7 separate regions of the Homo sapiens genome follow, and all the other regions are linked to region 3. Evidence: promoter capture Hi-C in 16 types of primary human blood cells and fetal thymus (Javierre and others, 2016). All regions are on one chromosome and are shown on one strand. The core of a region is centred on a gene start or on the middle of the fragment in contact, and the rest is flanking DNA. Distances in the headings are between cores, read along the strand shown. Region 1 overlaps TRAK1 (trafficking kinesin protein 1). Region 2 overlaps TRAK1 (trafficking kinesin protein 1). Region 3 holds the start of EIF1B (eukaryotic translation initiation factor 1B). Region 4 overlaps TRAK1 (trafficking kinesin protein 1). Region 5 overlaps TRAK1 (trafficking kinesin protein 1). Region 6 overlaps TRAK1 (trafficking kinesin protein 1). Region 7 overlaps TRAK1 (trafficking kinesin protein 1).

Evidence for each region. The method cuts DNA at HindIII sites, captures the fragments that hold promoters and counts their contacts. A CHiCAGO score of 5 or more calls a contact.
Region 1: a fragment that was not itself captured here is called in contact with the fragment with the promoter of EIF1B in region 3 in 7 of 17 cell types (total B cells, M0 macrophages, total CD8 T cells and 4 more); the score reaches 9.2 in total B cells.
Region 2: a contact is called between a fragment that was not itself captured here and the fragment with the promoter of EIF1B in region 3, in 8 of 17 cell types (naive CD8 T cells, total B cells, fetal thymus and 5 more). The highest score is 13.7, in naive CD8 T cells.
Region 4: a fragment that was not itself captured here is called in contact with the fragment with the promoter of EIF1B in region 3 in 2 of 17 cell types (monocytes and naive B cells); the score reaches 5.6 in monocytes.
Region 5: a contact is called between a fragment that was not itself captured here and the fragment with the promoter of EIF1B in region 3, in 3 of 17 cell types (non-activated CD4 T cells, monocytes and M2 macrophages). The highest score is 6.4, in non-activated CD4 T cells.
Region 6: a contact is called between a fragment that was not itself captured here and the fragment with the promoter of EIF1B in region 3, in 7 of 17 cell types (activated CD4 T cells, total B cells, naive CD8 T cells and 4 more). The highest score is 9.1, in activated CD4 T cells.
Region 7: a fragment that was not itself captured here is called in contact with the fragment with the promoter of EIF1B in region 3 in 2 of 17 cell types (total B cells and naive B cells); the score reaches 8.9 in total B cells.

The regions. Positions count from the first base shown.
Region 1 is chr3:42,198,589-42,201,854 of GRCh38, forward strand. It overlaps TRAK1 (trafficking kinesin protein 1), which reads left to right. Exons shown (of 16, transcript NM_001042646.3): 11 at 589-665; 12 at 2,230-2,466. Among named protein-coding and RNA genes, the nearest start is that of CCK, 66 kb to the right of the region's middle. The HindIII fragment of the contact is 673 bases long and covers 1,272-1,944 here.
Region 2 is chr3:42,216,436-42,219,922 of GRCh38, forward strand. It overlaps TRAK1 (trafficking kinesin protein 1), which reads left to right. Exons shown (of 16, transcript NM_001042646.3): 15 at 3,059-3,161. Among named protein-coding and RNA genes, the nearest start is that of CCK, 48 kb to the right of the region's middle. The HindIII fragment of the contact is 4,951 bases long and covers 1-3,487 here.
Region 3 is chr3:40,307,819-40,311,306 of GRCh38, forward strand. EIF1B (eukaryotic translation initiation factor 1B) reads left to right here and starts at 1,889. Exons shown (of 4, transcript NM_005875.3): 1 at 1,889-2,154; 2 at 3,075-3,238. The coding sequence starts at 2,124. It overlaps EIF1B-AS1 (EIF1B antisense RNA 1), which reads right to left and starts at 1,880. Exons shown (of 3, transcript NR_033965.1): 1 at 1,505-1,880. LOC124906228 (a long non-coding RNA gene) reads right to left here and starts at 993. Exons shown (of 2, transcript XR_007095876.1): 1 at 1-993. RefSeq lists an enhancer at 1,620-1,979 and a silencer at 2,250-2,299. The HindIII fragment of the contact is 2,965 bases long and covers 261-3,225 here.
Region 4 is chr3:42,105,504-42,109,020 of GRCh38, forward strand. The region is part of intron 1 of TRAK1 (trafficking kinesin protein 1); the gene reads left to right. LOC124906231 (a long non-coding RNA gene) reads left to right here. Exons shown (of 2, transcript XR_007095889.1): 2 at 1-3,517. Among named protein-coding and RNA genes, the nearest start is that of TRAK1, 16 kb to the left of the region's middle. The HindIII fragment of the contact is 2,953 bases long and covers 417-3,369 here.
Region 5 is chr3:42,178,873-42,182,386 of GRCh38, forward strand. The region is part of intron 3 of TRAK1 (trafficking kinesin protein 1); the gene reads left to right. Among named protein-coding and RNA genes, the nearest start is that of CCK, 86 kb to the right of the region's middle. The HindIII fragment of the contact is 9,746 bases long and covers 1-3,514 here.
Region 6 is chr3:42,149,088-42,152,378 of GRCh38, forward strand. The region is part of intron 2 of TRAK1 (trafficking kinesin protein 1); the gene reads left to right. Among named protein-coding and RNA genes, the nearest start is that of TRAK1, 59 kb to the left of the region's middle. RefSeq lists an enhancer at 2,533-3,095. The HindIII fragment of the contact is 2,941 bases long and covers 1-2,794 here.
Region 7 is chr3:42,123,258-42,126,864 of GRCh38, forward strand. It overlaps TRAK1 (trafficking kinesin protein 1), which reads left to right. Exons shown (of 16, transcript NM_001042646.3): 2 at 2,163-2,357. Among named protein-coding and RNA genes, the nearest start is that of TRAK1, 34 kb to the left of the region's middle. RefSeq lists enhancers at 1-92, 273-372. The HindIII fragment of the contact is 3,959 bases long and covers 1-3,607 here.

The DNA.
Region 1 (3,266 bases), core at 358-2,857, 1.9 Mb after region 3:
GAGACCCTCTCACTAGCACAGAACCAGAGTGCCCTTTGGAGGTGGGAAAGGCTTCCCCAGGAGCCGAAGTTGGAGGCCCTTGGTCTATTCTTGGTGTCAGAATCTTAGACACAGAGGGGGTGTGACAGACCCTGTAGACTAGGGGGACAATAGCTTTGTGTGGCTTGTATGGGCTCTGTTGCCATATCTCACTGTAAGCTCAGAGGTATTTGGAAATTCACCTGTCTCCATCATTCTGAACACATCACCCCTCCCTCATAAGTTCTGCATCCCATCTCGTAGCCATGGTTACAGCTCCATGGTTTGGCCAACGGAGCATAGGGTTTGCTTTTAGACACCTAATGGCATATGAGTCAGCAGCTTTACACTCAGTGCCCAGTGGCACTGCCACACTCAGAACCTGCCTGGGAAACTGCTCAGCCAGGGTCTCTGACAACAGAGAGTGCTGTTAAGTTTGTGTTGTGGGAAGACCGTGAGCTTCTGATGCCTTGGTTTACTCTCCATGGCCCACCTGGGTGCATACCTCTTTTAGAGACAGAGCATTTGAATTGGCGCTCACTTGACATTTGTCTTTCTGGCTTTTCCCAGGATTCCTTGGCAGCAGAGATTGAGGGAACGATGCGCAAGGAGCTGCAGTTGGAAGAGGCCGAGTCTCCAGACATCACGTACGGCCACAGTTTTTACAGTTTTGAGATTCCCAGAGACCAACTTGGACCAGTGCAGTGTTCAAAACCTAGCAATGTTGAGGCTCTGGGTACCGACAGTGATTGACTATTGTCCTTCCCAGTCCAGATTAAGGGAAATAATAGAACACAGCTGACAGCATCCCTCAGCTCCTCTTATTATCTTTTGTTAGTGTTAATTTTTATTTATTTATTTTTTAGAGATGGGGTGTCTCACTTTATTGGGCACGCCAGAGTGCAGTGGTGTGATCATAGCTCACTGCAGCCTCGAACTCCTAGGCTCAAGTAATACTGCTGCCTCAGCCTCTTGAGTAGCTAGGACTACAGGCGCATGCCACCATTTCCAGCTAATTTAAAAAAATCTTTTGTAGACATAGGGCTTCACCATGTTGCTCAGGCTGATCTCAAACTCCTGGCTTCAAGTGATCGTCCTGCCTTGGCCTTCCCAAAGTGTTGGGATTACAGGCGTGAGCCACCACTGGCCTGTGAGCCACTGTGCTCCTCTTCTTCTTAGGTTTTAAAGACAAATTGTGAACTTCCAGAAAGTCCTAGAAAAGGAGAGATGTCTTTCCCATCTCTCTTAACACAAGCTTTGTCTTGATATAGCTACACGTTTTTATCTTTCCTTTCAGTGGAAAACATTTAAAAAATTTAAAATCAACGTAGTGTGAGATTCAGAGGGGTCTTCAAAGATTTTGTGCAAGGCTTCCATCTCCATCTGAATACACCTAGGGATATGAGCTTCTACCATCTGTCTTCCTACCTCAACTCTTGTACTTAACCTGCCCCAAGGTGTTTGTAAGGAACATGTGGACCAGGTTTCATTGTGTTTTCTGTGTACTCAGACTCCATAGACAGAACTTAAATGAGATCCTGGGAGTGGCAAGTGTCCAAGTGAGGTTTGGTATATGTGTGACACCCTCTGCAGCCCAGAAGGAAGTGGCCATTGTAAAAACATGCCTACCCTTTTCTCTTTAAAAGGGAACAAATGAGCATCAAAGTGGTTCTGCTCCTAAAATAACACTTTCCAAAATTAGACAAATCTAGTATTTATCATCTTATTATAGAAGTGAAAGACTAACTTGAAGTCTTCCTTTTTTTATATGAATGTTCAACAAATATCCATTCTACAAGTATTGATTGATTTCTGCTGCGCTGAGCAGTAAACACTGCCCTGCTGCAGCGTTTATTCTAGTGAATATTATGAAAAAAGAAATCTAGGAGACAAAAGTCATACTTAAGTATTTTTATTTGTGGGTTAAGCTTTAGGGATGTGAAACACAATTTCACTCTTGCTGGCATCACCTTTAGGATACAACCATGCGTTCGAGTCCTGGGTTTAGTGGGTGTTGAATCTCTCAAATTTCGCATTGTGAAGGAGGCAGCCAATACCCTAAGAAACAGGTGGCAGGCACAGGATAGCAGGCTGCTGGGGGACTCGTCATAGGCCAGGTGCCCTTTTGGCTCAGTTGATCATTTTTGGAGGGTTAAACTCCAGGGTTGTGCCCGCATTTGCTCACTCACGGATGCCGTGCATTCTCCCTAGTCACCAGAAGCGTGTCTTTGAGACAGTAAGAAACATCAACCAGGTTGTCAAGCAGAGATCTCTGACCCCTTCTCCCATGAACATCCCCGGCTCCAACCAGTCCTCGGCCATGAACTCCCTCCTGTCCAGCTGCGTCAGCACCCCCCGGTCCAGCTTCTACGGCAGCGACATAGGCAACGTCGTCCTCGACAACAAGACCAACAGCATCATTCTGGAAACAGAGGCAGCCGACCTGGGGTGAGCAAGCTGGGAGTTTTCACTTCTCTGTTTTGGGGTGAGGAGTGGTAGTATGGATTGTCTGCAGGCTCAGTAATTATTAAGAGGGAGGTAGATGAGAGTCACCTGAAAAATACAGACCTGGCCGGGCGTGGTGGCTCGCGCCTATAATCCTAGCACTTTCGGAGACCGAGGCGGGAGGATTGCCTGAGCTCAGGAGTTTGAGACCAGCCTGGGCAACATTGCAAAATCCCATGTCTACTAAACATACAAAAAATTAGCTGGGCATGGTGGCATGCACCTGTAATCTCAGCTACTCAGGAGGCTGAGGCAGGAGAATCGCTTGAACCCGGGAGGTGGAGGTTGCAGCAAGCTGATAATTGCACCACTGCACTCCTGTCTGGGTGACAGAGTGAGACTCTGTCTCAAAAAAAAAAAGCGGACCTTACAGTTCTCCAAATCTGTTCTGCTTACCCACTTGAGCCTATGCCTATCCTTGATATGATATTTTAATCAGCTTAAAGATGTATAACAAGATGATACCAGAAAGTCTGCTTTCCTGTGAAATGCTTGGGGGAAGGATTAATGAATATTTTTTTTTTTGTTAATCTTCACGGTAAGGCTACAGAATAGACATTTGTTTTGTGACCGTTTTGTAGCTTGATGTTGGAAAGGCTGAGGAGGACTCAGGCTGTCTGTCTTGTGACCAGAATGTGGTCACAAGGTTCAGAGGGTGGGGTGCAGGGGGGCCAAGGTGCCCAGGACTGGGCTTTCCTCAGGAATGGTCAGTTCCTCTTTGTCCTGAAGCCCTGCAGAACCTG
Region 2 (3,487 bases), core at 767-3,266, 1.9 Mb after region 3:
CTCACCAGAGTCCAACTAGAGAGAGCAGGTGAGGTCTCACTCTGTAAGAGTGAAAGTAAGAGTGGTTCTCACTCTTGCAAAGTCCTCTGATGTGTCCACCTGTAGCTAGCTGAAGGATGTGTGCTTGCATGTGGTGTGTTTTAAGAACAAAACATCTGCACGACAGCTACGGGCAGTTCATCAACACAGGAGATCTTGAATAATAATCAAGGATTAATTAAGTTTAAAGCGTATCACATTTTGTACCAGTGTCAGAATCTGGGGGAGGAAGAACAATTAAAAAAGAATTAGGGGTTTTTATTGGTAAATCCAAATTCATTCCTAAATCAAATGATGAAAATATTTGTCGTTGTTAATACTCTAACCCATTTAATATGTGCCTGTCTCTTCAAAACACTAGGAAGCCCTCCACTCAGGTTGAGAGAAAGAATAAGAATTTAAATAGGGAATTAAAGCCTTAAATCCAAGAAACTCTATCCTTTGAGCTCCCAAATGAGCAGCATGGGATGAACACATAATACCATCTTCTGCAAAGAACTTTCTGTTTAGATAAAGAAGGGGGCTTTGGTGCGTGGCATGGGCTTGGTGACTTCACAGTGAGCCCTCACCCAACCCCCCTATTTCCTGCCAAGAAGGATGTTTTATGTTTCTCTCTCTCTCTCTTTTTTTTTTTTTTTTTTTTAGAACTTGCTCTCTTCCTGCACCCAGGGCTTTAGGAATCAGCCCGTTGCTTCTCTGTAGCAAGCATGAGGAGCCTCTGATGATCCCAGTCTTGGGTGACTCACTGTCTCTCTGTTGTGTCTCAAGGAAGGGAGGTGCAGCAGCATCCTGGCAGTCAGTGGTGACATGCGGAGAGCCCACGGGTCCAGGCGTCCTGGTGGTATTTTGGAAGGGCCAAATCTCTGGCTTTAGCACTTTGGAAACTTGTTGATCTTCCTTGGTCTTCTACGGCTATTCATTGCTTCTGGGGAATGGTGACTTGTGAATTTTTAGCAGCCTTTTCCTATCCCCAAAACCCATTTGTATAAGATGGGTTTGCTTCTGCTGATGCAACTACGTCTCTAAAATGTCCATCTTACACTCCCTATTGCAATTGAAGATCCAATATGTAAGAGGGTGGAGGAGGAAGTGAACATTTGTGACCTTTTGATTTGATATTCTGGCCATATGTTTAAATGGGGGTATGCTTCTGATTTTAAATCCAGCCTTCCCTTGTTTGATTTCTTTTAAATGTTATCTCTCTTTCAACTGTGTTGTCTTATTTCTATTTACTGCTTTCCCCCTCTCCTCCTTCCCAAATAACCCCTCATGCCTGTTATTTGGGATGCTCTTCCCAGGCTTTTTGTTATTTTTGTTTCTAGACCTTATTGCGGGAAGAGAATCGTGATTGTTTGGTTGCCTTCTCTTCATAGCTTACTCCATTTTTGTTTTGCTTGTGGCAGTTTCTTACTTATTGGAGTTCCTGAGCCATTATGTTCACTGATTGAGAAAGATTCATAAAGGCTATTTTTATGTGTTTTTTTTTTCCTTCCCTCCTGCTTTGCCTGGAGCTCCCCATGGCTGAGAGTTTTCTCCTGTGGCCGTGGTGCTGGCTGTCACGTCAGGTGCCATGGGAGCCTGCTTTGACACACAGACCCGAGTCAGACCTTAAAAATCAGGGCAAACCATCTTGCCTTGTTCCTCTAGTCACCATCACTTTTGTACTCTGGATTTGTCCTGCCTACCTTTAATCTGTGTCTCCAGCATTTATTTTTTTGTTTGTGTCATCGGGTTCCTGGTTTTCTTTTAAGACATAGTCAACTGTGTGGACCTGTAGGTTTGGGGCAGCAACCAATTCCATTGTTTTCCTTTTTGTCAAATCCAAGAGAAAATATACCATAAGGAGCTAGAAGATTCTAGTTCACAGCCTTTTGAATCTTCATGGCCTTTGAATCCTCATGGCCTCTGAAATCTGAATCAGTTTTCTCCCAGGAGGTCTCTGGGGGCTGAGCTGCTACAGGGGCAGAGGGTGGGGTGGGGTTGGGTGGGAGAATCATCCCGGCACTTCATCGTGCATGCTATTTCGGGCAGCATCTTTTTTTTTTATTTTATTATTATTTTTTTTCCTGATGCTTGAGTTATGAATGAGGATGACCTCTGCAATCATGATGTCTCCCATAGACTCTGTTCCTTGTTCCTTTGCCAGCTTTCTCATGCATGGTCCTAACACTTCCATGATTTAATCTGCTGCAGACCATAGTCTTCAGCCACCTCAGCAATAACTTGTTAGAACATTAAAAGGAAGTAAATTGAGAACAACTTGTTGCCATCCCATTTTCATTAGAAATCAGACATCTTAGAGATGTCAAGAAAGCAGCTAGCAGCTAGGGGGTATGGGGACCTGTCCTGCTCACACTGCTGTGTGTCAGACCAGACCTGATCCTGGAGCTCAGGACCCTAGAGAGCCCTGATCTCTGGAACTCTTGCCACGTTGTTGCTGAGGCAGCTGAAGTCCCCATCTCCCACCATAACAATCACAAATAGACAGTAGTGGAGCCAGCATCCCCAGGCCCCTTTTTGTGTAAGCAGAAAGGGAGCTGTGAGCCTTGCCCTGTTTGCAGGTTTCAAGTGCCTCTCCCTGCCTGTACTTCTCCCCTTCCTCTGAGCAGAGCTTTGGTAGCTGTTGCCAATGCAAAGAAATGTAAAGCAGCAAAAGAAGACAGCAGGTTCTGACCTGAGGAGGGAAACCAAATTTATCCCACAAAGGCCCATTACCCCACCCCCCTCGCCTCCCACCCCCAGACTGGATCCACTACTGGCCCAAGAATACTGATGAGAAACCTAGTCTGGATTGGGTCGGAAGCTGGAATTTGGTGCTCTGCAGACCAGTGCTCAAAATTGTGGTTATTTTTGAGGACTCGCCTTCAATCCAGAACATTTGCGTTTCACCTTCCTCGCCCAGATCCAGTTAACAAGGTAGCTCATCACTTCTTGCATCTGTTGAGTGACATGCTGGATTTTAATTTTTATTGTGGTTGTACTTGGATGCAAGGAATATGTTTTGTTCCTCCCAATTTAGCGCACCATCCTGGGAAGTGCATGTCTCAGACCAACTCCACCTTCACCTTCACCACCTGTCGCATCCTGCATCCTTCAGATGAGCTCACTCGGGTCACACCAAGGTAAGGGACCCTGGCTTTGGGGTGGGCAGGGGTGGGGTGAAGTCAGGGCACTCCCTTCCCTGCAAGGCTTAATGTTGAGGAAAGCCAAGTAGAGAGGCTCATAGAAAAACCAACTGAAGCCAGTGTAAGCATCTCAGCATTTGCAGGCACTTGTTCTGGGTCCCATCCTTCCTTTTGTTGTTGTTATGTGTTTTTTTTTTTTTTTTTTTTTTTTTTTGAGGCAGAGTTTTGCTCTGTTGCCCAGGCTGGAGTGTAGTGGCGTGATCTCGGCTCACTGCAACCTCCACCTCCTGGGTTCAAGCCCATCTTTCCTTTTGAGTTGAGGC
Region 3 (3,488 bases), core at 639-3,138:
TTTAAAGCACACTTATTTAGATATTTTGATGCTCCTTGTTTTGGAGCCAGCTCTAAACTTTACACCTCAATTTGGGATACGAAGAGTGTTTTCCATTTGAACCAGAGCTGGAAGACCACAAATGTGGTTAGATTTCTGAGAGTTAAGAATTTGATTTTTTTTTCAGGCATTAACCTACAAAAGCCTTCATTTCCACACCTGGTGCATAGAGTAATGCTTACCTTATAAAATAGCTATGAAGATTAATAATGTTATATATAAGCTTTGTAACAGGCAAACAGTAAGTACTAAATAAATGGCACTTATCATCATTGTTAATTACAAAAGATTGTCAAATCCAGGTATTCTTAACCTGCGGTCTGCAGATCCTTGGCTCATGGATAAAACTGCAGGGGTGGAGATCCCTAAAATTGGATGGGGAAAGATTATATCTGCATTTTCATTAACCTCTAAGCAAAATTTACCATTTCTTTCCATTATGAATAAAGGCAACATCATAGTGATAGAAGGACCTGTCACTTCGCACCAACAGAAGTTACACATACTTTCATATTAAATTTCTGATGTTACGGACATCACAAAATATCTCTTACATTTATCAGCTTTTTGAAATTATAGTATTAGACCTAATCTTGCTAGATCTTATTAGTGTATTAATAAAGAAATACACGTTATTAATGTATTTTTTAAATTTCAATATAATTGGTTTCCTTTGTAATCCTATGTACTTTGTGAACTTAAAACTTAACTTCTCATTATTCTGAGAAGGGATTCAGCAGCTTCACAGGATTGCCATGGCACACACAAAAAAGTTAAGAATCCCTAAATTTTAGTCTATCTCTTTGCTTCCAGAAAGCCAACCAAGTTTGACAATTGAACACACCTGCCTGAGTGAGCCAATTCCCAAAGTCTCGGGTTTATTTTTCTGTGCGTGACCTGATAGGAAGATATTACGGTCTGGTACATGACTCCATCAATTAACCTATTTGCTGAGCTCACCTTCAGCTTATACCTGGCATCTTTCCTGAATTCTCTGTTGGGCCTTCTGAGGCACACAAAATGAGCTGACAAGCTGATTTTCTGGTATCTTCTGTTCATACACACCTGGCCCCCACTCGATGCCAGGCCCAGGATTAAGCTGGGCAGTGATTCTCAAGCCTGATCCCAGACCAGCAGGCAGGATCAGCATCACCAAGGAGCTTATGAGAATTGCAGATTTTCAGGTCACACCCTAGACTTCCTGAAACAGAAACTCTGGGGTCTATCAGTGTTTTCTCAAGCCCTCCAGAGACACACGCTTTAGTCTGAGATCCACCGTGCTAGGGAATCGGAGGTCCGTCCAATCCTGGAAAGAGAGGCTCCCATCTCCAGTATTGGTTGAGACTAACACCGCTCCTGCAACTGGGGTTGGAATTTCAATGCAGGTAGTTGCTGAGCGGGGGCCAATGAGTTGAAAGCCGGAGCAAGGGGACTTGTTTTGTTCCTGCACCCCGATTTTACTTACATTACCCGGGGCCTCGAGGGTGACTCATAGAGATTAGCCCTGAGCGTCGACCCCTCGGCGCCGCCACTGCACAGCGAGAGAAGGGGAGTCAAGAGAGACGCTTGAGTCCCTTGACTGTCCTCCCCTACGAGCTCTCTGGGAAGAGAGCCCCAGACCTGCGAACTCTGGGCCGCTCTGCGGCCGCTTGAACACTTCGCGGGTCTTCCGCCCCGCGCTAGAGGACGCACTCCGTGACGGGAATTGCGGTCTCGGCCGCCCCCGGCCTCAGGCTTTCCGGGCTCTGCTGCCTCCAGAAAACTACAAGTCCCAGGATGCTCGGCGCGGGACGGTCACGTGGGAGGGGCCGCGGGCGCGGCTAAATAGTCTCCATCGGCCATTTTGTGCGAGAAGCCGCAGCGCCGCCTCTTCTCTCGCGCCCTCGCCTCTTCCTCCGCCTCCTCCTTCGCCTCTTCCTGCCTCCTCCCGGCTTCCGCCGCCGCCACTCCAGCCTAATCCCAACCCCAGGGCGAAGCGTTTTCTTATTTATTTCCGTTTTCTCGCCACTACAGCCTCCTGACAAGGTGATCCGGGCGGGCCCCGCAGGAATTTTATCCCCTCACCGGCCTCACACTAGTATCGCATGTCCACTATCCAGAACCTCCAATCTTTCGGTAAGATCCCGTCGCCGCCGCCTCCCTCCCTTGCCCGGCGCGCATCTCGGCCTTTTGCCCGCCTGGCCACCGCCCCTAGGGGCCCCCTTTCTGCCCTTCCCGCACCCCTAGTGGGGCTTTGTCTCGGCGCCCAGAAAATGGCGACGGGGCCCCTGGCGACCCCTTCCCCGAGGACAGCGCCGGACTCCGAGCCCTCCTCTCGGAGCCCCGGCCGCGGGCCCTGCGCCACCCCCTGCCCCGTCCTTGACCCGGCTCTCGCCTCCGCTTCTGCCCCTTGAAACCTTGGCGATCCTATTTCGTGGACTCCTAGATCGGCCCTGCTACTTGCAAAGGGTATGCCGGGCCAGGGAAACCAGGGATCGGCGCCCGTTCTCTGGCAGCTCCTGGGGGCACTTAGGGAAAGATGCGGATGCAAGCCTCTGATCTGTCACTGGCCAGTGGTTCAGTCTTCTCTGCTTGCGTAGCAATTTGTTAAATTACGCCTCTTGATATATATGTAATCTACTTTTTTTTTGGCAAGGCACAGTTACGGTTAAATGATTAAGGTGGGCGTATTCGAATGTTTATGTTTTCATCAGAATGTAATCGAGATGACGCACATTTTTATAGCGGCTACAATATTAAGGTTTTCTAAATCTTTTTCTCATTAGAGGACCATATTGAACGATAACATTATTTATCTATAACAGCGTTTTTCTACAATGGACATAGCTGTTCAAATGTTTCTCTTTTTGTGAGAGTATCTTGGGGGTTTTATTAATACTCCACCCCCATCTCCATTCCTACCGGCAAAAACAGCAAAGGCACTAGAACCTTCATTGATGACTGTCTGGATTGGTAGTATAATGTATTTCTGGAAAGTACTTCTTAAAAAATATTTTTCTACTTTGGATTTTTTTTTTTTTTTTATCCATTCGCAGACCCCTTTGCTGATGCAACTAAGGGTGACGACTTACTCCCGGCAGGGACTGAGGATTACATTCATATAAGAATCCAGCAACGGAACGGCAGAAAGACACTGACTACTGTTCAGGGCATTGCAGATGATTATGACAAAAAGAAACTTGTGAAAGCTTTCAAAAAGGTAAAGGGATTAGGAAGAAAGGATTAGAGTTACTGATGCACACCTCTGAACTGGATTATGATTCACACCTTTATATCGGCGTGGATGAAAATAACTAGACCAAGAAAGTTGTTCTCATTTTTGTAATTAACATGTAAATATTTAGTTATTCTCCCAGTGTGGTCTCTCATTTTAAAAGAAGATTCGCGTTGCTTTTAAATAAATTTAAATGTGAAATATTTAGTTCTTGATGTTACACATAAAATCATTT
Region 4 (3,517 bases), core at 643-3,142, 1.8 Mb after region 3:
AAATATGGGACTATGTGAAAAGACCAAATCTACGTCTGATTGGTGTACCTGAAAGTGATGGGGAGAATGGAACCAAGTTGGGAAACACTCTTCAGGATATTATCCAGGAGAACTTCCCCAACCTAGCGAGGCAGGCCAACATTCAAATTCAGGAAATACAGAGAACGGCACAAAGATACTCCTCAAGAAGAACAACCCCAAGACACATAATTGTCAGATTCACCAAAGTTGAAATGAAGGAAAAAATATTAAGGGAAGCCAGAGAGAAAGGTCGGGTTACCCACAAAGGGAAGCCCATTAGACTAACAGCAGATCTCTCAGCAGAAACTCTACAAGCCAGAAGAAAGTGGGGGCCAATATCCAACATTCTTAAAGAAAAGAATTTTCAACCCAGAATTTCATATCCAGCCAAACTAAGCTTCATAAGTGAAGGAGAAATAAAATCCTCTACAGACAAACAAATGCTGAGAGATTTTGTCACCACCAGGCCTGCCTTACAAGAGCTCCTGAAGGAAGCACTAAACATGGAAAGGAACAACCAGTACCAGCCACTGCAAAAACATGCCAAATTGTAAAGACCATCAATGCTAGGAAGAAACTGCATCAACTAACGAGCAAAATAACCAGCTAACATCATAATGACAGGATCAAATTCACACATAACAATATTAACCTTAAATGTAAATGGCCTAAATGCCCCAATTAAAAGACACAGACTGGCAAATTGGATAAAGAGTCAAGACCCATCAGTGTGCTGTATTCAGGAGACCCATCTCACGTGCAGAGACACACATAGGCTCAAAATAAAAGGATGGAGGAAGATCTACCAAGCAAATGGAAAACAAAACAAAAAAAAAGCAGGGGTTGCAATCCTAGTCTCTGATAAAACAGACTTTAAACCAAAAAAGATCAAAAGAGACAAAGAAGGCCATTACATAATGGTAAAGGGATCAATTCAACAAGAAGAGTTTGAGACCAGCCTGGGCAACATAGTGAGACCTCTTCTTTATTTAAGATAAAAAATAAAAATATAATAATAACAAAATAGACACTTTATGTGCACTGGAGTCTTGTGTATAGTGACTCTATCACCTGAATAATTACTTTTTAAAATTATAATGTTGTATTTATTTATTTGTATTCTGCTTTGTAGGTTGTCCTTTGGAATTTTCCACATTTTGAATTTATGTTTGTGTTTATTGGAAAATTGGTTCAAGTGAATGTGGAATCATTTTACTGTCAGGGTATATTTGTTTTTCTTAACTGCATATTGTCAGACTAATATTTTTTGGATGAGTTTGAAATCTTTTAATATCCAGATGATCTCATTTGATGTTTTGAAAAAGTAACCATTGTTCATTTTTAAACAGAATTTCCTGTTCAGGAAATAATTTAGATTAACAATAAAACAGATGAATGCATTGAATGGTAGAGGCACAGTTGGCATTGTGATTTCATGAGATTTTGTACTATTAATAAAATAAGTTTTCCTAATGTGGCACTTAACTTTTCCAGAATTTACCCCTTGATTGCCAGCTAACTTTGCTTGTCCCCTAGTTAGAGCCACCTTTGAAGGGGAAGACAGGACAGTCAGGACAGGGGGAGGGATGTGGGCCTTGAACTCTGGCAGCTGCTCAGGCTACCTTGAAAGCCTTACAGAGTCTAATCATAAACATTGGGTAGAAATGTTTTTGGACAACAGAAAGCAAGTCTAAGAAATCAATTATTTGGGCTGGGCGCAGTGCCTTATGCCTGTAATCCCAGCACTTTGGGAGGCCAAGGCGGGCGGATCATGAGGTCAGGAGATTGAGATCATCGTGGCCAACATGAGGAAACCCGTCTCTACTAAAATACGAAAATTAGCCTGGCGTGGTGGTGCGTGCCTGTAGTCCCAGTTACTTGGGAGGCTGAGGCAGGGGAATTGCTTGAACCCAGGAGGCGGAGGTTGCAGTGAGCCAAGATTGTGCCACTGCACTCCAGCCTGGTGACAGAGCAAGACTCCGTTTCAAAAAAGAAAAAAAAAAAAAAGAAATTAATTATTTATAAACAAGAAACTTCATCTGAACTCCCAGATTAGAACAGTAAAACCCAAGAGGTTGGAGGGAGATGGGTGAGATTAAGTGCAAAAAGATTATTCTATTTTTGCTGTGGATAATTAGGAAAATACAGGTTAACCTCTTAGCCTGTAACCTCTTGGTCTGTTAACCTCTTTGCCTGTACAGATAGTACCTTTAAAGGTAACTATCTGTATCAGTAAGGATTAAGTTTGGCTGTATAGAACAGTGGCTTCACATTATAGAATTTATTTTTCTCTAAAGTATAAGAAGTTCAGAGGGAGACTGTGCAGTACTGGTGCAGCCCTGCTGTCCCCAGGGTTCCATGCTCTTCCTGTCCTTCAGTTCTACCATACTAGATGTCGTTTCCATCCTTAAGGTCATGTCACATCTAAGAAGGCTGCGGAAGCTCCAGCCATCATGTCTGAATTCCAGGATGTAGGGAAGGCAGCCTTTGAGAAAGGCTCTCACACCAGTGCTTTTATCTCATTGGCCAACACTTAGCCTTGTAGTCTCATTTTGCAGCAGGGGAGGCTAAGAAATGTAGTTTTTCCATGGGGCTCAGAGCTTTGATACTAAGAAGAGTATGGATAGCGGATGGCCACCATGTGTCTACCATGTCTCCTTGACTATAATTAAAAATATGATGCAGGCTGGGGGCAGTGGCTCAAGCCTGTAATCCCAGCACTTTGGGAGGCCAAGTGAAGTGAATCCCTTGAGCTAGGAGTTCAAGACCAGCCTGGGCAACATGGGGAAACCCCATCTTTACTAAAAATACAAAAAATTAGCCAAGTGTGGTGCTGCCTGCCTGTAGTCCTAGCTACTTGGGAAGCTGAGGTGGGAAAATCATCTGAGCCCAGGAAGTTGAGGCTGCAGTGAGCTGTGATCGTACCACTGCACTCCAGCGTGGGTGACAGGAGTGAGACCCTGCCTTTAAAAAAAAAAAAAAAAAAAAAAGATTCAAACATTCAACATTAGCATTCCCTAACCTAACCCACATCATGACCCTGACAAGAAAACAATGGTATTTGCATAGCATGATGGGTAAATGATGGAAGTAGTTCTTAGCTGATGGTCACCCCGGACACTACCTGGCACCCTCCATTCCCAGCACTGCTTGTGGAAGCTCTGTTCTAAATCACTAGGAGAAAAAAGAATCTGGTGGCACATACTCTACAATGCAAAAGACAGCAAAGTGATGAAACCTCCAGAAGTTGAACCACCAAGAGGCATGACAATAGTAAGATGAGTCTTGCCCAATTTGACCATAATGCTCCTGTTTGAAGGCAAAGTCTCAGAATGGGTCAAAAAGTGAAGCTTTATCTATGTGCTTTGCTTAAGAAATTCTCAAAGTATGCAAAAGACTGGAAGTTGGGCTAGGAGAAAATTTAGAGAAAGAAGAGTTATAAGGAGGGATTATTTAATCAGTGAGGTCAGGATCTTTGGGGCCAGGGGCAGGCGTG
Region 5 (3,514 bases), core at 563-3,062, 1.9 Mb after region 3:
GCTGAGGTAGGAGGATCGCTTGAGCTCTGGAGGTGGAGATTGCCGTGCACCGAGATCATGTCACTGCACTCCACCTGGGCACCAGAGCGAGACTCTGTCTCAAAAAATAAAACAAAACAAAACAAAATTAGAAGCAAACTACAGCCACTGTTTATTTGAATCTCTCACATTTTTAAATTAAAAAATTCTCTCACCTTGACCTCCCAAAGTGCTGGGATTATAGGCATGAACCACCGTACCCAGCCTGTTTTATTTTTAAAGGGTCTTCATGGCAACAGCGTCTGTTTATGTCTTTGTGTTCCATGTCTAATGCCATTCTGTTCCTGTCCTGATAAGATTCATGCCTGAGTTACTGCCTTTCCTTGGAACTAGGAGGGTGTCCTGGTTAAAGTCTAACTGTCCCAGTCATGTGGCTGTTGCACTGTGCGGTGGTTTTCCTGGGCTTTGGCTCTGTTTCTTCTGTTCTCTTGCTATGATTTCCATGCCTGCCACAGGCAGGCAAATGGGGGATTCGCACAGGATCCCAAAGCACAGCCTTCCACCAGCGTGGAGAGTTCGCTTCTGGTTTTAAGGGGAAGAGGATGCTGTGGCTCACCTGGGCTTGCTGCTGTCTGGAATGCACCTTTGGGCAGAGCTTGCCTCCTCCTCGGTTACAGAGAGGGTGATTCCACTGGCCCCTTAGTCATGCTTTTTATCCTGAAATTGGTGAATGAGATGAGTCAGTTGCTAAGTGTAGGCGGCAGGCTGTTTGGAATCTCTAGTGGGTGTGTCAGTCAGTGCAAGAGTTCATTGGTAAAAAGGGGCTGAGACTCAAGTTACAGTCTTTTTTAAGTCTATGCTTTTAAAGCATAGTGAGGAGAGGGAGCAGGCAGTTAGAATGAGCTCTACCTTGCCTCATTTCTTGGGGGAATAAAGGAACTAGTTCTTTTAATACCTTATTTCCAAGGGCCTAAATTACTTGTTTGTGGTCTCTTTTTCTCATTGTAGTTTAATCCAGTGGCCATCTTCTAGCTGTTTTCTTGTTTTTATCCTTTTTTTTTGGTAGGGATGGTGTCTCACTATGTTGCCCAGGCTGGTCTTAAACTCCTGGCCTTCTCAAACTCCTGATTCTCCCACCTTGGGCTCCCAAAGTGTTGGGATTACAGACATAAGCTGCCACGCCCAACCTGTTTTCTTGTTTTTAGAAGTAAACATTAATCATATTTTGGCTAGAGAAATGGGAGGTTTTTTTCATTCTTATAATTCTCAAAGAAAAACCCAACCAGCTTGTTGCCTCAGTAAAATTAAAGAGAAAAAACTAGAGACACTACAATAACGTTTCTGTTTAAATTTTCATTTTATCTATAAATATTTTTAATGTAACTTTTTATTTTCAATTTTTTAAGTACATAGTAGGTATATATATTTATGGGGTACATGAGATACTTTGATAAAGGCATATGCTGCATAATAATCACATCAGGGTAAATAGGGTATCAGGCTGAGCAACGTGGCTCACACCTGTAATCCAGACACTTTGGGAGGCTGAGGTGGGAGGATTGCTTGAGGCCAGAAGTTTGAGACCAGCCTGGGTAGCATAGTGAGACCCTGTCTCTACAAAAAGTTAGACGCTGTAACTGAAGAAGAGGAAAACTTTGCCCAAACCTGCATTCCAAAAATTAGATAGGCATGGTGGTGCATGCCTGTGGTCCTAGCTACTCAGAAAGTGAAGTGGGAGGGTTGCTTGAGCCCAGGAGTTTGAGGCTATGGTGAGCTGTAATTGTGCCACTGCACTCCGGCCTAGGCGATAGAGTGAGACCTGTCTCAAAAAAAAAAAAAAAAAAGAAAAAGGAAAAAAAGGTGGAGGGTGGAGAAAGAAAGGGATATCATCACTTCAAGCATGTATCATTCCTTTGTGTTACAAACATTCCAATTATACTTGTAGGTATTTTTCAATGTGCAATAAATTATTGTTAATTGTAACCACCCTATTGTGCTATCAGATACTAGATCTTATTCTAAGTATATTTTTATACAATTTGCTGTGACTTCTTGCTTTTTCTTCTGGCAGAGAGTGTTCTTTAAAATTACTCTAAAGATTACATTTCTGGTATAGACCAGGGAAGTGTTTGTCCTTAGTGGGGCAAGAAGAGGCGAGGCAGCCCTTAGGTGCAGGGTTTGAGGTGTGACAGGTAGGACAAAGGACTTCATTGTTGAGCTCATTGCTCTACTTGTTTCTCTTTCCCTTCCTGTCTCCCAATTCCTGTTGGTTTCTGGCCGTTTGTGTGCTGGAAGCCTTCCGCATCCTTCAGGTGCTCTGGCAGTCCCTTGCCATGCCTGAGCCATCTTCATTATTATGCTGTGTGCTTGATTTGTTTGCATTGAAATGTGCGTACAAAATGCGGCTAAAGGCCGGGCGCAGTGGCTCACGCCTGTAATCCCAGCACTTTGGGAGGCTGAGGTGGGCAGATTACTTGAGGTCAGGAGTCCGATACTAGCCTGGCCTACATGGTGAAACGCCATTTCTACCAAAAATACAAAAATTAGCTGGGCGAGGTGGCGTGTGCCTGTAGTCCCAGCTACTTGGGAGGCTGAGGCAGGAGAATCACTAGAACCTAGGTAGCGGAGGTTGCAGTGAGCTGAGATCATGCCACTGCACTCCAGCCTGGGCGACAGATCGAGACTCCATATCAAAAACCAACAAAAAATGTGGCGAAGGCATGCAAAATATCAGCGCTTGTTGGAACTTGGCAGCCTGGATGCATGAAGGCAATGCAGACCAGGTAGTCAGGTAGTGAGCTGAGGAGCACTGATGAAGCAACTGCTGAGTGTTCAGTCTGAGAACTAGTTCTAGTAGAGACATTAGGTAGACTTGAGTTAGATTTTTGGAGACTATACTTCCAAAGAGAAGTGAACATTGGTATTGCAGTTTTAACCAAATCCACCTGAAACCACTTGGACTAGGTGCTAATTTTCAGTCAGCCTCTGGAGACTTTAATTCTGTGCAGTCTCCCTCACACAGTTCTTTGAATCCTTTCCTCTAGGTACCTAATAAGCACAGCTGTTGAGTCTGAGAAATGACAAAGGGCCATGAAATAAGGTACCTTTTTTTTTTTTTTTTTCAATTTTGTGTTTTGAGATGGGGTCTCCTGTGTTGCCCAGGCTGGTCTTGAACTCCTGTGCTCAGGAGATCCTCCTGCCTTGGCCTTCCAAAGTGCTGGGATTACAGGCATGAGCCACTGCACCCGGCCAAGGGAACTTCTTGGTAGACACTGACCAGTGTGGATAAATGTGCAGAGATGAGCATCTCTGTTGATGGGGCAGATGCACCGTGTCCCCTTTGCCCCGTGAGAGGGCCGTCTCCACATGTACTGTGTTCCCAGAAAGGCAAGGTCATGATGGGGAGGCACAAATTGTGGGAACGAGTTGGGGGATTTGCAACTCTCTCTTTTTTTTTTTTTTTCTTTTTTTGAGACAGAGTCTCTCTCAGACACTCAGGCTGTAGTGCAGTGGGGTGAGTGAGCCCCGCCTCCTG
Region 6 (3,291 bases), core at 74-2,573, 1.8 Mb after region 3:
TTCAGAGCCGGCCAGTTTCTATGGCAACGGTTAGATTGAAAGATGAGCGGCGAGCAGGAGACGAGGCTTGAGTGAGACAGCCAGTGGTGGTGTGTGTCTCTGACGTCACCCTCTAGGCGTCTGGATAGGACGATCCTGGCTACTCCCATTCAGGGCTGCTGTCCAGTGCTGCTTTATTGGCAGTGCTGCCAGGGTCTCCGTTAGCTCTCTGCAAATTGCCTTCCTTTCTGCTCCTCCTACTCCCTCCTTCCCCCATAGAATTTTTCTTTTCATTGCCCACTTTACTGTTTTGGCTCCAGACTGTCGTTAAGAATGTACAGCCTAATTCTGGTGTGTTTCGGGATATTCTTCTGTCCAGTATTCTGGAAGGGCGGGGAGGCATGGCAGCGTTTTACTTGACGTTGATGGTGCTGTGAAGTCCATTCTTTCCTCTGCAAGACTACTGACTATGCAGAAATTTATCGAAGCGGATTATTATGAACTAGACTGGTATTATGAAGAATGCTCGGATGGTAATTATGGCCCCTGCAAAACAGAGCCGGGATGTATAGGGGTATTGTCTCCTTCTGGGTGGGGGGTGTCCTGAAACCTTTAGGGGAGACAGGCGGCTGGCGGGTGGGAGGTACCAGAACTAGCACCACTGGCTCTGGCAATTCCAAAGGCATGGTGGAGGAGGTGGCAGGTGGGCAGGGCTCTTTACCGTGAAAGACTCCTGCAGTATGTATGATTGTTTGCTTAGAAGGGGAGATGGTTTTTGGTGTGCTGGGCTTGTAAGTGTTATACTTCTATTGGATTGAATTTTCTCTGGTGTGAGACGTGAGTGTGTTGTTGATGCATGAATGTGTGCAAGTGGAAATGTGTTCACTGCGCTCTTGCTGTTGGAGGGGATAGGAAACTGGGGGCTTGGAATAGTGTGTTCAGGAGGTGGCTTCCTGGACTGTCAGCAGCAGGCCTGGAAGACTCTGCCCTTTTCTGAGCCCAGACCTGGGAACCATCAGAGGCTGGAGAAAAGGCAGAAGCAGCTTACCACTTAGCGGGTGATTCAAATGAAGTTTGCTTGTTGGATCCAACAGAGATGGGGGTGGGGAGGTGATGGGAGGGGCAGGGAAAGAATGTGTCCTTCTGTCACTACCTTGGTTTGTGCAGGGAGGGTGTGGCACATTCCAAGGGAGACTGGGTGGAGGCCAAGTTGTGTGGCTGGACAGGTCTCAGGAGGTTTCAAGCACACAGAAAACAGCACTGAGGTGCGTTCTCAGAGACATCACAGTGGGCGGGGTCTCAGGTTCCTGGGGTGTTGGACATCAAAATTGTGTATTACACAGTTAATCTGTCTTTAATTTTGTCTTGAAAGTGACCCTCATATCACATGCCTTCACAAAAAAGGGGCCCAATTAATATATACACTTTGAGGGTCTGTTCCCCAGTGATGATATGTTCCCAGCCCTATATGAGCCATTAATAGATAAGGTAAGTGCTTTTTAATTGAGTCGGGAGTTTCAGAATGCTCTATTCCTGACTACATTTGATTAACCTGAATGATGTAACAGGCTGGGACCTGGCCTAGTTAGTAAACTGAAAAACTACATAATTATCTCTTATCCACTGATTTTTGCCGCGACTGTGGGTTAAGGCTTTCTCAGGGGATGGTATTTAAATGTGTGGAAAAACTATGCCAGTTCAATCTCACTGGCCCCCAGCTTTAGATGCAGACATTGTCATGTTCGTTCTGTGTACATCTTTAACTATTTTGAGTAACAAGGATTGGAGGCAGTTCCCAGGGTCATGAGGGGAAAAGATGAGTGAATTTTTTCTTTGGAATATATTCATTCTAAAAGCAAGTTCCCATTCTGTTACCTAACTCCAAAAGGAAATTCTAGAGATGCTCCTTTTTGGAAACCATCATTGACCTCCTTCTAGTTTCCTTGGTGATTTGTGACTCATTGAACCCTCTATAACTTTTTAAAGTAAGGGATTGAATACATCCTCACTGTACCATTGGATTAGGGAGCACTGGTTACAGCAGGGTGCTGTCAGAGGCCCCGTGGATTAGTCAGGTGGGGCCATAGCTCTGTGGATGCCATCCTAGAAGTGGAGGAAGAAGGTTTCCTAATACCATGACCCAAATGCCACACCATCCAGTTCCCTTTACACCCTGAAATAAAGCCAGTCGCTTGCCATGGTCAATCTGGAGGGTGAGCGGAGGCCTGCTCTTATCTGGGTATCCATCAGAAGGATTTTCTTACCCAGCACTTCCTCAGTTGAGTCTTTTGGCCCTGAGAGACCCTGATCTGTCTTCCTCTAAGAGCAAAGGAAAATAGAAGAGGAGATGGCTCAACTGTTCAAGGGTAAATATATTGATTTATTTATTTCTGAATTATTGTTATTGTCTGAATGTATGTTGAGCAAAATACTTGTCCTTTATCATCTATCCCATTTTGGATGAAGGGAAGAAGGTTTTTGAGACAGAATTTACTGGGACCACTGGTATTTTCATACTCCCATTTAAAGAGGTAGCAAAGTAGGGAATAAAGGAACAGAAGTCCAGAAATAAACTGGTTTAGGAAACGTACAAAAAGGAGATTTCAATTATGTGCCAATTTTGTGGTTACTTGCTTACACATTTCTAACTAGTTGAGTTCCTTCCTAGCTTCAGGCAGATTAGTCTGGAAATGAAATTTGCCCCTGTTTATATGTACCTGTCTTTTATTTGCCTCTGTCTTTTTTATTGCAACTCAATAGACACACACCATTGCTTTGTCTCTGATTATTTGGCATTTGAATCGTCAATGAGGGAAGCTTTTACAGAACTTTTGATACTAATAAAAGGTGAGTCAAATGTTTTAAAAAAGATGCAGAATCATCATTTATGTCAGAGCTACTGACTCACACTTAAATTGCAGTGTTAGCACTGAAAAAGAAATGTATATGGATGGGAATATAGATTGCAGGCCAATTAGGACCCCTCTTTTGAAGTTGGAATTAAGGGATAGCTACTGTTCTCTTCTATCTTTGAGGGTTAGGAGAACTTTATTCAGTGTTGAATAACTGTATTCCTCCTGTTTATTAATGTTTGTTGTGGGGGTCTTCTATTCAGCACCCATCTCTGCCTGTCCTGCTCCCCCGCCCCCAGAGGAGGATATAATAAGAGGCATGGGACAGGGGCTTATAATAATAAGACATGGGAGGGGTTGATTACCCAGTGTCTTCAAGTAACTTTTACGAGAGATTTGAAATAGCCAGCGATCAATGCAAAATAGCAATGGCCTTGGCAGAATTTGCACATACATACTC
Region 7 (3,607 bases), core at 528-3,027, 1.8 Mb after region 3:
TCTTCTTCCAGGCAGAGGTGTTCCATGTTCTACCTGAGTGTGTACAGGCCCCACAGTTACTGCCTTTCTGCCTTCCTGCCTTCCTGGCCTTGGCTCAAGCAGGGGGAACAGGGAAGGGACTGGTTCTCCCTGCTGTTCCTGCTTTGGTTCTGCAGTGAATCCCTGGCCCTGGCCCTGCAGTGAATCCCTGGCCCTGGCCCTTCCTGCTTCCTGTGACAGTAGCCTCCCGTGTGGAGCACCCCAGGATCTACTCCCACTGACTGCACCAGTCATTTCCTGTGTGTGTGCAGACATGCACGCATGTGCGAGTGAATGCTCATATGTAAGACTGGGCCTTTCTCCTTTAATTTTATCTTACCGTGTTTAGGAATACCTCATACTTTTGGTTCGTCCTCAGCATCTCCTCTTTATTTTCCCTGCTATTGTGTGGTTTTATTTGTCACAAGTATTTTTTTTTTTTCTCTCCTCTGCCCCTTCTAATATCTTGGAGAGGGATGGAGACTGAAGAGTGAGTTTGGTCCTCCACTTGATCCAGGTTCTTATTTTTGTTTTCTACTTCAAAGCGAGAACTTGGTACTGTGACTTTGATAAGAATTGACTTCAGGCCCAGCAAGATTTCTCATGCCTGTAATCCCAGCACTTTGGGGGGCCAAGGCAGGAGGATTGCGTGAGCCCAGGAGTTCGAGACCCACCTGGGCAACATAGGGACCTTGTCTCTACAAAAAATAAAATTAGCTGGGTTTGATGGTGCACATCAGTGGTCCTGGCTACTCGGGAGGCCAAGGTGGGAGGAATGCTTGAGGATCGGAGGTCAAGGCTGCAGTGAGCCAATATTGTGCCACTGCATTCCAGCCTGGGCAACAGAGTGAGACACTGTCTTAAAAAAAAAAAAAAGAATCAACCTCAGTAATATTCTTATCTTTTGAATAATTTTTCTTTGTTGAAGAGTCATTCCTAGAACAAAATACCAAGTTAACTCTCCTCTCCTGTCTAGTTGTGTGCACCACAGGCACTTGGTTTATTTATGGGTTGACAAAACCACTGCTGTTCCCATGGGCTGTTTCCCATCATAGGGAATGCCTTATGCAAATAGGCTGATACAGTGGATGATGCCAGAATTAGTTGATAGATAATTACCACTCACCCATTAGCACTTATTTAATTCAGTCTCTGTGTTCTGCTTTGATGAGTAAGCACTGGGATAGAGAAGTAGGGTACATATCCTGGTTATGTTTGCCATGTTGTCATGTTTGCATTTTAAAGGCCTGCATTAATGTGCTTTGTGTGAATTGGTTCTCCGTCACAGGCATTAGTATGCACCCCCTGAGCACAGCCTGGGCCAAGAGCTATGGGGTACAGGTGGTGGATCAAGGGTAGCTGTGTATGGAAGTTTGCCCTCTCCCAACAAGATGAATCAGACACTGAAATACCCACAAGACACTTAATAAGTGTAGTAACTGAAGTTCTGACAAAATGGCATGTCAGTATAGAAAGGGTAAGAGAGATTAATTCTGCTTGGTGTGCTCAAAACACCAAGCTATTCCTTAAAGGATGGGCACCTATTGGTGTGATTGCTGGATGCCCCATAAGGATATAAGTGTTTCAAGGGCAGGACCATGACTCTTGTGTTCACCACTGTGTCTCCTTTGCCCGTGGTACTCAGGATTCAAATGGATGGATCGATGGAAGGAAGGAAGTGTGGATGAATGAACAGATGAATGAATAAATTAAATGAAGGCAAAATTCTAGATAGGAGGATAGCTTCAATGGTAAAAGAGTGGCATGAAGAAGTTAGGCATACTGGTGAAATTAATACTGGTTTGGCTGACATGTAGAACGCTTGAAGGAGAATGGCCAGAGAAAGGGTTGGAGGAAAGACTTAACTCAGATGATAAAAGCTCAAAAATTTTGGCTTTTCTTCCTAAATAGTGGACACTAAACAGCAGGAAACATTTGGGTAGGTCTTGGCCGTAAGCATGCACAATTCAAAGTTTTGAGACTAGAATTTAAATTGGAAAAAGACTCCTGATATAGCCTTGTCTAGCTTCTTTGTGCTGTAGATAAATAACCGAAGATACCTGCCGCAGGCTACAAGTTTAGTTAACTAGCAGCAAGGCCATAGCCATTTCTGGGCTCTCATTTCTTGGTTGTCTTGTCTTTAGATGTGTGCAACAGCACCGATCTTCCGGAAGTCGAGATCATTAGCCTGCTGGAGGAGCAGCTGCCCCATTATAAGTTAAGAGCCGACACCATCTACGGTTATGACCACGACGACTGGCTCCATACACCTCTCATTTCTCCAGATGCCAACATTGACCTCACAACCGAGCAAATTGAAGAGACGTTAAAATACTTCCGTAAGTAGTTGTCCATGTGTGTTGTGATGGCAGTATCATGATCAGGTCTTCTTAGCCATGGCCCCAAATAAGATCTTGTACTGGCTACCCTGTGATGTGGCTTGCCACCTCTGGAAAGGTAGTCAAAGAAATGCGGCTGTAGGGGTTAACCGCACAAAAGGTCCCAATTTTAAATGTTCTGAATAGAAATTTTAGAGGAGTGAGGACCAAGTAAGATTTTCATTTGAACCAACTTTTTATGTATTTATTTTTTTGAGATGGAGTCTAGCTCTCTTGCCCAGGCTGGAGTGCAATGGTGTGATCTCGGCTCACTACAACCTCTGCCTCCTGGGTTCAAACGATTCTCCTGCTTCAGCCTCCCGAGTAGCTGGGGCTACAGGCGCGCACCACCATGCCCGGCTAATTTTTGTATTTTTAGTAGAGACAGGGTTTCACCATGTTGGCCAGGCTGACCAACCTGAGCACTCCTGACCTTAAGCCACCCACCCACCTTGGCCTCCGAAAGTGCTGGGATTATAGGTGGGAGCCAACTTTTTTTTTTTTTTGACTGTACAGAAGAATTTGAAAATGTTCCTATTTCTATTTCTTACCAAAAATACAAATCCTTAGAAACTCACTGGGAAGGTGTTTGTCTAAATTTAAAACCAAAGATATTGGGAATATCCAGGCTTCTCATTTATGTGACATAGCAAAATATGTGTACCAAGGCTGATAACTGTTGTGTGAAAGCTCACTAAGCTGGATGTTTGGAGAGTCCAAATATCACTGCAGCAGCAAACCAGTCATTCTGATGGGCTGCAGAGCTGATACCTGGTAGGATAAGCAGTAAACTAGGTGAGTGTTTTCAGTGTGGTCATGATGGCCAGGGTGTGAAACTTGATATTGCAGACTTGAAAAAAAGGATAATTTAAAAAATGAATACTTTATGATTCTGGTATTTATTCAAAATGTGCCTTTTTAGAAGTAATTTCACTCTTTAAAAACTTATGGCAGCCAACAATTTACATATCTGTGTATCACTGTGTCACTTAAAAAAAAGTATAGCAATCCTCCTACCTGCAGATAACTTGGTTCAAAACCAGCTTATGTTGCATCTTTAAAGATTTCTTGTAATTATTTTTACTAATACAGGCTGATCTCTCCAATTTTCTTGAATTTGTGAGATTATTTGTAATAAACAAATTGGTACTGCAAGTTTCTCCTTTAGGGTGTATCTAGGGATGTTTTCAGTTCTCTTTATTAGATATTAA